Linked DNA regions of Homo sapiens: region 2 is linked to region 1. Evidence: promoter capture Hi-C in human tissues and cell types (Jung and others, 2019). All regions are on one chromosome and are shown on one strand. Each heading gives the region's core, a stretch centred on a gene start or on the middle of the fragment in contact. The rest is flanking DNA. Distances are from core to core; before and after follow the strand shown.

Region 1 (2,663 bases), core at 68-2,567:
CTCAACGTGACAACCTTGGTAACTCTGCATGAACGGACTGGATAGTAAAGTGGAATTATTACTGAGAACTGCAATGAATAAAATCTTTTGCATTTTTTGCCTACGTTTCACAGAGGGTGATATTTTTCTGAGGCAATTAAATTTATACCACGGCCACAATACTGAAACGTTCTGACCAACAAAGTCATGCTCCTGCATCTACACAGCAGATAACTGCAGAAACGGCTTCCTTTCTTCCTTGTAAAATTGCCTGAAAACAGCTCCCCCTTGCTGTCCGTCGAGGCATATCTTCACCAACGTTAAAACAGAGCTGAGGGAGATCGCATTTCTGCCTCCCTCCCGCCCTGCAGAGGGGCTCCAGCTGTTCAGAGTAACGGATTACTAGGTAGGTGGTTGTTTCCCCTCCTTCCCAGGGCCTCTTTCCTCTCTTTGAGATTGCCTCTTTCTTACTCCTGAGCACAGGAGCCGGGCGGGTTTTCTGTCCCTTGCCCTGGACAGCACTGCCTGGATGGCCGCTGTCCGGCAGCTGCTCTTTGTCCACCCAAAAAGATGTCCCCACGACTCAGTAGTAACCAGACGGTCCCCACGGACCACTGCGGCCAAATTTCCGCCATCCCCGCTGTGGGAATCAGGCTTTTCCCGCAGAAAACCCCAGGAATCTAGAGAAAACTCCTTAAGTCCCTAGTCTCCATAGAGAAAACCAGGAGACACTCCCCCCAAACCCCGCTGTGAATACAGGCACAGCAGCCACTGGGGCTGCAAAGTGATGAGTGCGTTCTTCCCGTCGCAAACATAGGGTAATAAATAGCATGCATCAAAGACGTTACTAGGAAGAGATAGCTCTTTAAGTCACGAGCGGGGAGAAATGTTTGCCCCGGGAAAATTTGCCTGGGGAATAAAATTTGCCAGACTGCTGCACGGGTGAGCTCGGTGAGAAGGAAGAAACCCGGACTGGAGGAGGTGAGGTCGAGAGCCAGGTTCAGGTGCAGGAGCTAGATGCGTGGACGCCGGTGCGTGGACTGGAGGTTTCCAGGTACCGCGCTTAGCGTGCCTGTTGAAGTCAAATGCATGGTTAAGGAGGCTAGCGAGGAAGGCTAGTGAGGGAAGCTTGTGGAAACGGCTACGAGCCCAGAAAAGGCATGACTCGTCCAGTTGTCCAAGTTTTTGGAAGGGAAAAGCGGGAAAGCGCCACGATCCCACCTACTGTGAGGAGGAATCTGCGAGTCTCCCAGCTCCACCCCCTCCACAGTGATGCAGAGGACAAACACCGACGTAGGGAGAGGAAAAAATAAAACTCCAGGGAGCGGGGAGTAGGCAACCAGCAGTCTTCCGGCAATAGGGCGGGAGGGAGCGCGTCCCAAGGAAACAAGCACCGCATAAATACTTGAGTTGGGAACCCAGTGCTTCCGGAAGCTCGGAGCTCACCTTCCCGACCTCGCCGAAGTTGAAAAAAGGCAGAGCAGGGAGAGGGGCCAGCTCACCCTGCTGAGAGCTGCTCAGTGGGCAGGCGGGACGCTGCTCCGGGAGACGCCCACTGGAGGGATCGCAGAGCCCGGCAAGCTGCGAGCGCGCCAAAGACCCTGCGCTTCGGACGAGGAGCCCAAGTCCTCCGAGACGGGGAGGGAGCGGCCCGCGAGGGCTGGAGCTCCGAAGAGGGCCGAGTAGGAGCTGCATGGACAGCATGCGTCTCTCCGCCGGTCCCGACGCGGGGCCCTCGGGCAACTCCAGCCCATGGTGGCCTCTGGCCACCGGCGCTGGCAACACAAGCCGGGAGGCCGAAGCCCTCGGGGAGGGCAACGGCCCACCGAGGGACGTGCGCAACGAGGAGCTGGCCAAACTGGAGATCGCCGTGCTGGCGGTGACTTTCGCGGTGGCCGTGCTGGGCAACAGCAGCGTACTGCTGGCTCTGCACCGGACGCCGCGCAAGACGTCCCGCATGCACCTCTTCATCCGACACCTCAGCCTGGCCGACCTGGCCGTGGCATTCTTCCAGGTGCTGCCGCAAATGTGCTGGGACATCACCTACCGCTTCCGCGGCCCCGACTGGCTGTGCCGCGTGGTGAAGCACCTGCAGGTGTTCGGCATGTTTGCGTCGGCCTACATGCTGGTAGTCATGACAGCCGACCGCTACATCGCGGTGTGCCACCCGCTCAAGACTCTGCAACAGCCCGCGCGCCGCTCGCGCCTCATGATCGCGGCCGCCTGGGTGCTGAGCTTCGTGCTGAGCACGCCGCAGTACTTCGTCTTCTCCATGATCGAGGTGAACAATGTCACCAAGGCCCGCGACTGCTGGGCCACCTTCATCCAGCCCTGGGGTTCTCGTGCCTACGTGACCTGGATGACGGGCGGCATCTTTGTGGCGCCCGTGGTCATCTTGGGTACCTGCTACGGCTTCATCTGCTACAACATCTGGTGCAACGTCCGCGGGAAGACGGCGTCGCGCCAGAGCAAGGGTGCAGAGCAAGCGGGTGTGGCCTTCCAAAAGGGGTTCCTGCTCGCACCCTGTGTCAGCAGCGTGAAGTCCATTTCCCGGGCCAAGATCCGCACGGTGAAGATGACTTTTGTGATCGTGACGGCTTACATCGTCTGCTGGGCGCCTTTCTTCATCATCCAGATGTGGTCTGTCTGGGATCCCATGTCCGTCTGGACCGGTACGTGCCGGG
Region 2 (2,663 bases), core at 71-2,570, 1.1 Mb before region 1:
ATTGGCATAGGCAAGACTTCATGACCAAGAACCCAAAAGCGAATGGAACAAAAACAAAGATAAATAAAATGGAACTTAATTAAACCAGAAAGCTTCTGCACAGCGAAAGAAGCAGCAGAGTAAACAGAAAACCCACAGAGAGGGGAAAAATCTTTGCAAACTATCCAACCAAAGACTGATATCCAGAATATACAAGGAACTCAAACCAGTCAGCAAGAAAAAAACCAATCCCATGAAAATGGGCTAAGGGCATGAATAGACAATTCTCAAAAGAAGATATTCAAATGGCCAACAATCATATGAAAAAATGCTCAGCGTCACTAATTATCAGGGAAATGCAAATCAAAGCCACATGTGATACCACCTTACTCCTGCAAGAATGGCCATAATTTAAAAATAAAAAAATAATAGATGTTGGTGTGGATGTGGTGAAAGGGAAACACTTTTACACTGTTGATGGGAATGTAAACGAGTACAACTACTGTGAAAAACAGTGGAGATTCCCTAAAGAACTAAAAGTAGAACTACCATTTGATCCAGCAGTCCCACTACTGGGTATCTAGCCAGAGGAAAAGAAGTCATTATATGAAAGACACTTGCACACACATGTTTATAGCAGCACAATTCATAACTGCAAAAATATGGGACCAGACCAAATGTCCATCAATCAATGAGTGGATAAAATGTGATATATATATATATATAAAATGGAATACTACTCAGCCATAAAAATAAATGAAAGAATGGCATTTGCAACCTGGATGGAGTTGGAGGCCATTATTCTAAGTGAAGTAACTCAGGAATGGAAAACCAAATATCATATGTTCTTGCTTATAAGTGGGAGCTAAACTATGGGGATGCAAAGGCATAAGAATGATACAATGGGCTGGGTGCAGTGGTTCAAGACTGTAATCCCTGTACTTTGTGAGGCTGAGGCAGGTGAATCACCTGAGGTCAGGAGTTCAAGACCAGCCTGGCCAACATGGCAAAACCCCGTCTCTACTAAAAATACAAAAATTAGCCGGGCATAGTGGCGGGTGCCTATAATCCCAGCTACTCAGGAGGCTGAGGCAGAAGAATCGCTTGAACCCGGGAGGCAGAGGTTGCAGTGAGCCGAGATCGCACCACTGCACTCCAGACTGGGCAACAAGAGTGAAATTCTGTCTCAATAATAATAATAATAATAATAATACAATGAACTATGGAGACTCTGGGAGAAGCATGGGAGGTGGGGTGAGGAATGAAAGACTGCATATTGGGTACGATGTACACTGCTTGAGTGATGAGTGCACTAAAATCTCTGAAATCACCACTGAAGAACTTATCCCTGTATAACCAAATACGACCTGTTCCCCAAAAACCTACTGAAATAAAAAAACCACAATACAAAACAAAACAAAAAAGAATGAAGCATTCATGTGCTAGAACATGGATGAGTCTTGAAAACATTATGCTAAGTGAAAGAAGCCAGTCACAAAAAACCACATAGTGTATGACTCCATTTATAAGAAATGCCAGAATAGGCAAATCTATAAGGACAGAAAGTAGATTAGCAGTTACCTAGGGCTGGATGGTTGTGGGTTTTTTTGGGGAGGGAGTTGATTAAAACGTTATAAAATTGTAGTGATGGTTGCACAACTCAGTGAATATACTAAAAACCACTGAACTGCACACTTTAAAAGGGTGAATTGTATAGTATGTGAATTATATCTCAAATCAAGCTGCTGAAAAATAAACAACAGCGGGCTGTGAGCCAAAATTGTCCTGCAGGTGGTAGGTAGGTTGGCAACTTCTGTTGTGGATATATTCACGCAGGATGACAGATGAACTGATTCCTTTCAGAGGCCTGTTAGTGGATTCAGCTATTTGAGCTTGGAAGACTCACTTAAGGAGAGCTGGAAGTTGACTGTAATCAGAAAGTCCTTTGTTCTCAGGTCTTGCTGGTGAAAGGATCTATCTTATAGATGTTTGACATAAGCAATAATGAACTCCTCACCACCTGCTGGTTTGTAATTACAGCCACAAATTCAGCCCAGGAACTCAGGTACATTCAGACTCATTGTGGTTTCTAGTACTGGGTTCTTGCATAGCTACTTGGTTGCAAGGACCTTCACTTGGTCTCAGCCACACTTCCCAGACAAGCAATCATTTTATCCATCTCTCTTCTTCTAGACCATTTGGTTAGTGTCTTAGTCCACTCAAGCTGCTATCACAAAATGCCACAGACTGGGTGGCTTATCCAAAACAAATATTTCTCACAGTTTTGAGGAGCTGCAAGGGAAGTTCAAGATCGAGGCACTGGCAGATTTGGTGTCTGGTGAGGGCCTGCTTCCTGGTTCATAGATGGCTGTCCTCTCACTGTGTCTTCATATAGTGGAAGTGGCCAGGGAGCTCTCTGGAGTCTCATATAAGGGCACTAATCCCACTTTTGAGGGCTGTGCCCACATGAATCACCTCTTGAAGGCCACACCTCCAAATACAAGCACATTGGGGGTCAGGTTTCAACATATGATTTTTGGGGAGACGTAAACATTCAGTCTATAGTGGCTAGTCAGCTTCAATTCCTAACCGTCTCAGATTTGAAAAACAAAGCTTCATCTCACTGTCCTTTTGGAGAGCTAATATGAGGGGCTAAGGGTAGAGTTTAATTTAAATTTCCTTCT

The links. Contacts are between HindIII fragments. The study calls those that stand out against the background at their distance.
Region 2: a fragment that was not itself captured here is called in contact with the fragment with the promoter of AVPR1A in region 1 in 1 of the 25 tissues and cell types used here (thymus).

Annotation. Positions count from the first base shown.
Region 1 is chr12:63,149,855-63,152,517 of GRCh38, reverse strand. It overlaps AVPR1A (arginine vasopressin receptor 1A), which reads left to right and starts at 1,317. Exons shown (of 2, transcript NM_000706.5): 1 at 1,317-2,651. The coding sequence starts at 1,682. The HindIII fragment of the contact is 8,253 bases long and covers 1-2,663 here.
Region 2 is chr12:64,245,253-64,247,915 of GRCh38, reverse strand. No RefSeq gene overlaps it. Among named protein-coding and RNA genes, the nearest start is that of KICS2, 24 kb to the right of the region's middle. The HindIII fragment of the contact is 5,361 bases long and covers 1-2,663 here.